3 separate regions of the Homo sapiens genome follow, and all the other regions are linked to region 2. The links are contacts of gene promoters, found by promoter capture Hi-C in human tissues and cell types (Jung and others, 2019). All regions are on one chromosome and are shown on one strand. The core of a region is centred on a gene start or on the middle of the fragment in contact, and the rest is flanking DNA. Distances in the headings are between cores, read along the strand shown. Region 1 has its middle 19 kb from the start of TEKT1. Region 2 holds the start of XAF1 (XIAP associated factor 1). Region 3 has its middle 4.4 kb from the start of MIR4520-1.

Region 1 (3,314 bases), core at 766-3,265, 94 kb before region 2:
ACTTTGGGAGGCTGAGGTGGGCGGATCACAAGGTCAGGAGATCGAGACCATCCCGGCTAACATGGTGAAACCCCGCCTCTACTAAAAATACAAAAAAATTAGCCGGGCGTGGTGGCGGGCGCGCCTGTAATCCCAGCCACCTGGGAGGCTGAGGCAGGAGAATGGCGTGAACCCGGGAGGCGGAGCTTGTGGTGAGTAGAGATCTCGCAGCTGCACTCCAGCCTGGGCGACAGATCGAGACTCCAACTCGAAAAAAAAAAAAAAAAAAATTCTGAATTGCCCCAGAGAAAATATCTCCAAATATCAATATCTGGGGATGCCCCAATAATCACCACCAGACTACTCAGAAAAATTTACAAGCACCACTTGTACACATAGAGCTTCAGGTCTTTCTTTTTATAGCCAGTATTTTCCTGAGGATAGTTCTTGCTCTTGGTCCTTTACTAGTTGTTAACTTGAAACACTGTGAACATTTTCAATGAGCAAAGGCAATCTTTATTTCAGGAATAGTGTTTCTAAGTTTTCTGTGGATATATAGTGCCATTTGTTCTATCTTTCCTGGAGTATACTTTGCAGATGACTCTCAAATCTGTGTGTCTAGCATGGACCTTTCCCTCAGCCCTGCACATTCACACACAACATCTTTTTCTTGAGGTACCTCCAGCTAGTGAAATGCAAATTAAAAAAAAAAAATTAGTCACTGCTCTCCCTCTGACCCCTCATTATTACTGTCACCATATCATTTTCCTCATCTACACTGGTGTTTTGGGTAATATTATTCCCCTAGACATTCATCCTACAAATTTTCAGTCAATTCTGATTCTTCTAACTCTTCTTCATCCTTCCCTCACCACCAAGCCACTGATTCAGCGTTTATTGAATTCCCCACAGCTGTCTTTTCCTTGCCCTTCCCACTCACCTTTCCCTCATTATCATCTCCTATTTGGACTGCTGATGTACTGTCAGAATTGGCCTTCTCACTCCACTACTTTTCTTCAATCTTCAAACTTCTGCCAAGTTAATCTTTCAGATGACCAGCTCTGATCATCATCCTCCCATATCAGAAATCAACATTGGCTCCCTGCCATCACTGCAACCTAAAAATAAACAACAAACAAACAAACACCTTTCCAAATGCAGTGCATAGATTAATCTTCCTATACCTCCTTTTTAATGACAAAAAGTAATACATTTCTGGGAAGACAGTTTCAGTGGAGGCAGCATAGAATTTGGATCTTCCTGGATATCCACATAAAAACAGACAGAACTAGATAGCAAAATCAAATACTCATGAATCACATTTACAAAAAGCTAGACAAGTAATCCCTGCAAACTCCAAAACAGGACAAACCACCAACAGCCATAAGACCTATGTGTTATCCACATCTCACCTGTGCAAGAGAACTTGGAAGAAAACAACAGGACATATGACAAACCTGAAAATGGTAAAATTGTAGTAGGCCAATTTGGGAACAACAGCTGGAACTAGGAGGGAACATGCCCATTTGTTTTAGGCCATTCTCGCACTGCTGTAAAGAAATACCTGAGACTGGCTCATTTACAAGAAAAGAGGTTTAATTGGCTCATGGTTCTACCGGCTGTACAGGAAACATAGTGGCTTCTGCCTCTGGGAAGGCCTCAGGAAGCTTCCAATCATGGAAAAAGGCAAAGGGGGAGCAGGCACATCATATCCTGAAGGCAGGAGCAAGGAAGAGGGGGAGAAGGTGCCTGATATGGTTCGGATCTGTGTCCCCACCTAAATCTTGTGTCAAGTTGTAATTTTCAAATGTCAGAAATGGGACCTGGTTGGAGGTGATTGGCTCATGCGGGTGGATCCTTCGTGAATGGTTTAGCACTATCCGTTGGTACTGTTCTTATGATAGAGTTCTCATGAGATCTGGTTGCTTTAAAGTGTGTGGCACCTCTCCCCTCTCTCTCTCTTCCTCTGGCTCCAGCCATGTGGCTCTCCCTCCACCTTCCATCATGATTTTGTTTCCTGAGGCCTCCCAGAAGCCAAGTAGATGCCAGCATCATACTTCCTGTTCAGCCTGTGGAACCATGAGCCAATTAAATATTTTTTCTTTATAAATTACCCAGTCTCAGGTATTTCTTTATAGCAATGCAAGAACAGACTAAAACAGTGTCGCATACTTTTAAACGACCAGATGTCAGGAGAAGTCACCCACTAGCGCGAGAACAGCACCAAGGAGATGGTGATAAACCATTCATGAGAAATCTCCTCGACAATCCAGTCACCTCCCACCAGGCCCTACCTCCAACAATAGGGATTATAGTTTGATATGATATTTAGAGGGGACACAGATCCAAAGCCTATCACCACTGTAATAGCAAGTAGGTGCCAGGCACAGTTGATAAGATCTAAGGACCTACGGGAACTCCTGAAACTGGTCAGCCAAGGCTGTCTTCCAGGATGGAGCGGAACACTTCAGAGAAACCCTTGGAAAAACTCAACTGAAATAAATGAAAGAAAAGATCCAGAAAAGCACAGGGTGGGGAAACAAAGCCAGGAAATCTCCAAAAGCAGGCCATCATGTTTTTGAACATTACAAGAACAAAAATGGATGGGGATCCAAGAAGTTAGATGTGTTATCTGAACAAGCTTCTTTTTATTAACATGGAAAACAAAATTCACATAAAAATGGCAGTAGAAAAGTAGTGAAGTCAAATCCCATACAAAGTTACTATAAGAAAAGAGACAATAAAGGGCAAAATAATATCATTACACAAAACAAAAGCACAACGGAAAGATGAACAAAAACCAAAGCAAAGGATCAGAAAGAATACTAAAAGCTGTAATTCAAGAAAATGAGGGGGAACTTGGCAAGATAGCCAAATAGGAACAGCTCCGGTCTGCGGCTCCCAGCGAGACCTATGAGGAAGATGGGTGATTTTTGCATTTCCAACTGAGGTACCCAGTTCATCTCATTGGGACTGGTTAGACAGTGGGTGCAGCTCACGAAGGGTGAGCAGAAGCAGGGTGGGGCGTCGTCTCACCTGGGAAGTGCAAGGGGTCAGGAACTCCCTCCCGTAGCCAAGGGAAGCCATGAGGGACTGTGCCATGAAGGACTGTACTATTCAGCCCAGATACTATGCTTTTCCCACGGTTTTTGCAACCAGCAGACCAGGAGATTCTCTCAGGTGCCTACACCACAAGGGCCCTGGGTTTCAAGCATAAAAGTGGGTGGCCATTTGGGCAGACACTGAGCTAGCTGCAGGAGTTTTTTGTTGTTGTTGTTGTACCCCAGTGGCACCTGGAACCCCAGTGAGACAGAACCTTTCACTCCCCTGGAAAG
Region 2 (3,526 bases), core at 518-3,017:
GCTTTTGGGGTGACAGGAAGCTTCATTATCTCAATTACGGGGATGGTGTTTCATGGATGTATATAACTTAGGCCAAAACTTATCAATTGCTACCCTTTAAAATGTGAGGTTTATTGTAGGTCAATTATACCTCTATAAGGCTGTTTTTAAAATGAAACATTTCATTTTAAATAATGTAAATAATTAAATTATTTCAATTTAAATAATTTGAGAGAAGTGCCAAATTCTCTTGAATCTTTTTTCTTGTTTTCTGGTGCCCCTGTTTGGTCCACAGTGTTAGGAACGCAGCCCTGCTAGGCTCACGCTTCCTGCCAGGGCCATGCCAACTTCCAAAATCTCCAAAGCGAGAGCTTCCCAAGTCTCCCCTGCCTTCAGGTTCACCTGCGCTAACTCACAGAGACTCCGAGGTTCTTCCTGGAGACCACAGTGAAGGAAGGGTTCTGAGCCTCCCACTTCCTGGGCAGGGCATTTTTCTCTAACCGTCCTTTTTGCCAAGAAGTGCCCCCTTTTGGCTGGGTGTGGTGGCTCATGCCTGTAATCCCAGCACTTTGGGAGGCCGAGGCGGGTGGATCACCTGAGGTCAGGAGTTAGAGATCAGCCTGGCCAACATGGTGAAACCTCATCTCTACTAAAACAATACAAAATTAGCCGGGCATGGCGGTGCACGCCTGTAATCCCAACTACTCGGGAGGCTGAGGCAGGAGAATCACTTGAACCCGAGAGATGAAGGTTGCAGTGAGCTGAAATCGCGCCATTGCACTCCAGGCACTCCAGCCTGGGCAAAAAGAAGCGAAACTCCATCTTAAAAAAAAAAAAAAAAGAAGAAGAAAGAAAGAAATGACTCCTTTCATTTCCATCAGCTCTTGCTTGTGGCAGCTTGGGAGAAGGGAAATGGGGTGGCTGTAGCCGTAAAGGCCCAGGGGACGAGAAGAGTTACATGCCCATGTTCCTGGCACAGGGGACGTGCTCCGAGAGGGACTGTCAAAGCCTCACTCCTCTTCTGCCCAGGCAGCGGGCACACAGGCAGCATCATCTTCCCTTCCTCTGCTCTCTCTCCTCTGCCTGACCTGGCCCCTTCTCCCCCTGCTCTTCCTGGGCTGGTTGAGAAACCAGAGTACTTGAAGGGTCTGGCTGGAGCAAAGCTCTCTGGGGAGGGTCCACTCAGGTCCCTGTCACAGGTAGGGAGCTTTGAGAATGGGGCTTTTTGATCGGTCAGATTCCGCGCCCCCCCTCCCGTTAGAGGTGTGGTCCCAGCCCCCTGCTCTGTCCCCCCTGCCCCGCCCCACGGCTCCCTTTCCAAGGAGGGTGAGAGTAGTCCTGGAGAATCTCCGTGGGACACTTTCTTTCACAGATGGGTGTGAAGGTCATAGTATCAGAACCCCAAATTAGGACCCAAGGTCTCACAAGTATGAGTAGCCCAGTTGGGACCACTGGCCGGGCTATTTGGCTTCAGAACTGTCCCAGAAAGCCTAACATTTGGGGGAAAGGGGCTGCAGTGAAGTGGAGGTAATGCTGCCCACCCCCACCCAGAGATTACCAAGTTTAAACCCTCCTACCCTTGGGGCCCACGGTCTCCAGCTGCTTGTCCTCCTAAGTGTTCTTATGCAGGAACCACTTTCTGCTCCCTTCAGAAACAGCCCTATGTCGTCTACGTCTCTCCCTCGCCAGCCCGGGTCTGCCGCTGGAGAAAGCACTTTCTTACCAGTTCCTGCACACCGAGAAGTCTCCTTCCATGTTCTGCTCTCTGCAGGCTTTCGGTTGAGTTTCGTTTCTTGCAGGCAAGGAAACAAAACTGAAAGTTTTCCGATGGCCCAGCCCACAGCTTCAGGGAGGGAGGAGATCTTCAGAATTCTCGGCTCAGGAGTTCCCCTTGATTCCTGAGGCTGGACCCTCCCAAGAAGCCCCTTTACAGCATGGCCAGCCCCTGCTGTCGCCCTTGGCCGTCATTCTTTGCTGCTGTCACAGCCGCATCTACCTCCCTGAGGCTGGCAGCCTGAGGCCAGGCCTCTCCTGGGCAGCACAGCAGCTTGTTCCCTCACCCTGGCTGGCTGGCTTCTCTCCGTCTGGGTCTCCATCCCTTTTCCAAACCATCCACCTCCCACCCTTCTCCCCCATCTCCGGCTCCCTTCTGGTCCTCCCCTGCAGGAAAGAGGGAACTTGCCATGTTGAGCTTGAATGCTGTTCCCTAAAAATGGCTCCTGGACTTCCAGGCGGTGAGGACCTTGCAAACAGCGTCCAGGGAGGCTCTGGGGATGCAGGGTGGTGTGAGCCCAGACCCAATCTGGTGTGTATCCTCCTGGGGGTCCTTAGAGTTTTTCCAGACCCTAGAAACAGCTGTGCTAACAGAAGAACTCTAAACAACATCTGGAGTGATGACAAGCAGGCCCAGAGAATTCCCGTGGCGTCTGCCAATGGGGTGGGTGCCGCCTCTCTGAGGAGGATAACAAGATTAAGGGAAATGTCCAGGCAGGGCTCCAGCCTCCAGGCAGGCTCTAAAATTCAGGCACTAAATGAGAAGCAGTGTGTGGTGGTACTGATGATCACAGTGATAGGAGGGAAGAATGAAAGACTGTTTCAACATTGTTCCTATGTTCCAGGCACCATTCTAAGCATTAGGTAGGCATTGTCTTCGTTTTAATCCCTCATGTAAGCATTATTAACTCCATTTTGCTATGGAAAACAGAGGCAGTGACAGAGTGAGACTCTGCCTCAAAAAAGAAAAATGAAATGAAAAAAGAGAAAATGGAGGCAGAGAGAGGCTAGGCCAATCGCTCAACATCAGAGCTGGGATTCACACCAGGTTGATATGACTCAGGTGTCTATGTACCTAACCAAGGCCCCATCCACCTCATTTGACAGCTAGTTGGGGTAGTGAGCACTTGGCTGAGAGTCAGAGACTGAGGTTTGCATCTTATCTTGTTCCCTTCCTCATCGGCTAGGCAAGCTCCTTAATCCTTCTGACCCTCACTACCCACTCCTGTCTGTCTCTGGGCAGTCTGTCAATATCAAGAATGAAAAACGAGTGGGCTTGGCTTGGTGGCTCATGCCTGTAATCCCAGCACTTTGGGAGGCCGAGGTGGGCGGATCACGAGGTCAGGAGTTCGAGACCAGCCCGACGAACATGGTGAAACCCCGTCTCTACTAAAAATACAAAAATTAGCTGGGTATGGTAGTGCTTGCCTATAATCCCAGCTACTCAGGAGGCTGAGGCAGGAGAATTGCTTGAACCCAGGAGGTGGAGGTTGCAGTGAGCCGAGATTGCACCACTGCACTCCAGCCTGGGCAACAGAACGAGACTCTGTCTCAAAAAAAAAAAAAAAAAAAAAGGGCTGTGCGCGGTGGCTCATGCCTGTAATCCCAGCCCTTTGAGAGGCCGAGGCGGGTTGATTATGAGGTCAGGAGATTGAGACCATCCTGGCCAACACAGTGAAACCCCGTCTCTGCTAAAAACTACAAAAAATTAGCCGGGCGAGGTGGCGGGTGCCTGTAGTCCCAGCTACTCGGGAGGCTAAGGCAGGAGAATGGC
Region 3 (3,505 bases), core at 513-3,012, 96 kb after region 2:
TTGCCCCAGCTTACTGCCTGGAGAAAGCTTTCCAGCTGCAGAGTAGGGAGGAGCAACCCTGGCAGAGTCCTATCATCTTCCTGAGTTAAGGGGACAGAGAGAGCTGGCAGTACTGGGAGGCCAATACAGCCAGAATTCACAGGGCAGCATGCTGAAATTGAGGGTGTTGTACAGAAAGAGAACTCTAGAGAAACAAAGGTCCCCATCAAGTATTCAGCTGAATACAGGAGAGAAGGGGATAAGGTGTTACCTTGAAGATAGGATGTATCGACGGCAGGCACCTCATGGTGGCCACAACAATGACCTGAGCCATCAAGTGTCCCCTCAGAAGATGAGACTGCAGCTCACGGAGCTGGAAGTCAGAGCTGCGCACCCAGCATTGGGCCAGAAGCCAGACCACTGGGGGATCCGTGGGCAGGAAAAGGGGAGGTGGTGGGGATCCTGTGCTGGGCAGCTGGAGCTGGAGCAGGGACAAGTGTGGGGAGAGAAGGCATGAGTGCCCGGCACTCAGCGATTCCCGCCCCCCTTGCATGTTAACCTCGTCCTCCAAACCTGTTCTGCTTTCCCCATCCCACTCCTGCCTCTCCCTACAGCTCCCATTTCCTCCCCTCCCCTTCCTACCAGCTCAGTGCATTAGCACCCTGCAAGCTGCTTTGCCTCCAGCATTCTGCAGAAACTGCTCTTCTGGTGCCTCCTCCAGCCTCCACTTCCCCTTTCAGTCCCCGCATTGTGGACAAGATTCAAACCACCTGCTTCCTCCATCCCACACTGTTTTTCGAAATCTCATCTTTTGGCCCCACCTCTACACAAATGACTGAATCTCTTGTTCTCAGCTGCCTGCTGGACAATTTAAATGTCTTCCCGTTACCTCAACATTGGCCAGACAAAAGTCTACCTGGGCACCCTGTTCTCTTTATTGGTGCTATTTCTGCAGGCACCTGGCCTGGCTCCCCTTTCCCCTCTCCTTCATCTCCCTCTGCACTCGCATCCACCGGTCCTCTCCATCCCGACGGTCACTACCCATATCCGAGCTCCCCTCCTCCTGGGGTCAGTGCTGGGGCATGTTGCCCCAGTCCCTGTTTCTAGCATCTCCCCTCTCCAACCCACCCTAAACACCACTGCCCACACCGCGTGCCTATAGCATGTTTCATCACAGCCTTCTCCAGCTTCCCACTTCATGCTCCTTAGCCTGGCTTAGTCTGGCCCCAGTCCAACTGTCCCCTAGGAATCTCCTGACTCCTCTACCTTAGCCTCTGCCCAGTCTGTCTTGCCCCTGAGGACTGGTCCTTCCTCTCCCTCCTGCTTGTCTGAGACCTGGCCCTCCTCCAAGGCTGGTGACATCCCAACTCCCCGATCCCTCCTGGGCTGTCTCTGTCCTCCGGGACTTCCTCAGTCCCGGAGCTTCTGCAGACTAGCCCTATGTGTCTCTCCAGCTACATTGCAAGGCCTTCGAATAGAGACTTGGCGCATTTCCTCCTTTCGCGTCTCCCTGGTGCCTTAGCCCAGCGCCTTTGAAGATGGTGCTTAGTGCATTTCGATAAGGGGCTGAGCTGAGAAGGCTGGAGACTGGGAGCAGAAATCCTGAGTCCTCTCACCTGGATGACCATGGGCAAGAGTTTCCCATCAGGCTGCAGTTTCAGCATGACCAGAGGGGCAGCCAGGTGCTGCTGGCTACAGAGACTGACGTTGGCCTTGATCCCATCCAGCAGGGAGAAGTCAGCTTCGAACAATGTGCCTCCCTGGGTGCAGGAAGAGGTCAAAGGCTGCTATCAACATAAAGCATCTTCTTCCCACTCGGATTCCTCCAAGGGGGAAGAGAGAGAGAGAGAGGAGAGAGAGAGAGAGAGAGAGAGAGAGAGAGAGAGAGAAGCTAACTTGTCTCCATCACCTACTTTGTACCAGGTAATGGATCATGTGCTTATTGCCTCATATCATTGTTTATTTTTTGAGCCAGGGTATTACTCTGTTGCCCAGGCTGGAGTGCCATGGCGGGACCACCATGGCTCACTGCAGCCTTGACTTCCTTGGGCCCAGGTGATCCTCCCACCTCAGCCTCCCAAATAGCTGGGACTACAGGTGCATGCCACTACACCAAAAGTTACAGGTGCTAATTTTTGTATTTTTGTAGAGGCAGGGTTTCACCACGTTGCCTAGGCTGGTCTCCAACTATTGGGCTCAGGTGATCCTCCTGCCTCGACCTCCCAAAGTGCTGGAATTACAGGTGCAAGCCACTGTGCCCAGCCTTATAATTTTTATACCTAGTTGAACGAGCCTCAGTTGCACAGAAGAGGAAACAGATAATCAGAGAGGCTGGGTATTTTGCCTGAGGTCACACAGCTTACAAATAGCAGAACCAGGATTCACATCCAAGCCTATCTGCCCTTAATCCCATGAATTTCCTCTCTGTTGTTCCATATCGCCTCCTGATGAACAGCCACAGCACTCTGATCCTGACTCTCTTACTCTGCACACTCCCCGAATCCCTAGCACCAGGGGCCAGTCACATTTCTTCATTTGACCCTGTTTCTATCAACCATTCCATCTTGCACGCCCTCCCTCCACAGCTACTCTCGTGTGGGAAGGAGGCCGAGCAGCTGAGCTTCTCCAGGGTCCCTCAGGACCTCTCCTGCAGAATCCGTCCTTGCTGGCTGGCAGCAAGCCAGGCCCACAGTGGGTCCCGCAGCAGCATCATTGGCACTAGGCCACCCCACTTCACTGCTGAGCTTCCTCAGGGCTCTGATGTCCATACCTCCAGCTCCTTCTCCAGCTGGGCCTGCAGTTCCTCCATGCCTGGAGGGAACACTAGGCGAGCAGGAAGGTGAGCAGAGCGCCTCAGCACCACGGGGTTGGCGCCATTAAGAAACTGGTACCCAAATAAGGCATCTTCCTTCCAGGAGTCCCGCACGCGCTCTGGGGAAGGCAGTTGTTGAGCAAGTTGTGGGATCTGAGCTCTTGGTCCTTCCAACCCCACCAACCATGCCCCCTTGACTCCAGCCCACCAGAGGGACCCAAGTCTCTGGTCTCCCCACCCTGCTTCTTTCAATTCCCCTGGGTTGGGTGGGATCTGGGGGTAAGCGTCCTGGGAGACATATTGGGGTGGGGGACTGACCAGCCAGCTTGCTCTGGCCACAGCAGAAAATCTGGTTGAAGTCATTCAGATCATTCTAGCAAGTCGGAACATTATTTTATTTTTGAGATGGAGTCTCACTCTGTCACCAGGCTGGAGTGCAGTGGTGCAATCTTGGCTCATTGCAACCTCCACCTCCTGGGTTCAAGCAATTCTTGTGCCTTAGCCACCCAAGTAACTGGGACTACAGGCGCGTGCCACCACGCCCAGCTAATTTTTGTATTTTTAGTAGAGACAGGGTTTCACCATATTGGCCAGGATGGTCTCGATCTCTTGACCTCGTGATCTGCCCGCCTCAGTCTCCCAAAGTGCTGGGATTATAGGCGTGAGCCACCATGCCCAGCGTCAGAACATTTAGTTTTTGATAGTGAGGTCGGC

The links. The method cuts DNA at HindIII sites, captures the fragments that hold promoters and counts their contacts. A contact is called where the count stands out against the background at its distance.
Region 1: a contact is called between a fragment that was not itself captured here and the fragment with the promoter of XAF1 in region 2, in 3 of the 25 tissues and cell types used here (neural progenitor cells, small bowel and spleen).
Region 3: a fragment that was not itself captured here is called in contact with the fragment with the promoter of XAF1 in region 2 in 5 of the 25 tissues and cell types used here (IMR-90 fibroblasts, liver, lymphoblastoid cells and 2 more).

What each region holds. Positions count from the first base shown.
Region 1 is chr17:6,849,185-6,852,498 of GRCh38, reverse strand. No RefSeq gene overlaps it. Among named protein-coding and RNA genes, the nearest start is that of TEKT1, 19 kb to the right of the region's middle. The HindIII fragment of the contact is 4,954 bases long and covers 1-3,314 here.
Region 2 is chr17:6,754,287-6,757,812 of GRCh38, reverse strand. It overlaps XAF1 (XIAP associated factor 1), which reads right to left and starts at 1,767. Exons shown (of 7, transcript NM_017523.5): 1 at 1,703-1,767. The coding sequence starts at 1,734. RefSeq lists an enhancer at 1,591-2,110. The HindIII fragment of the contact is 6,790 bases long and covers 1-3,526 here.
Region 3 is chr17:6,658,159-6,661,663 of GRCh38, reverse strand. It overlaps the pseudogene ALOX15P1. Among named protein-coding and RNA genes, the nearest start is that of MIR4520-1, 4.4 kb to the right of the region's middle. The HindIII fragment of the contact is 8,121 bases long and covers 1-3,505 here.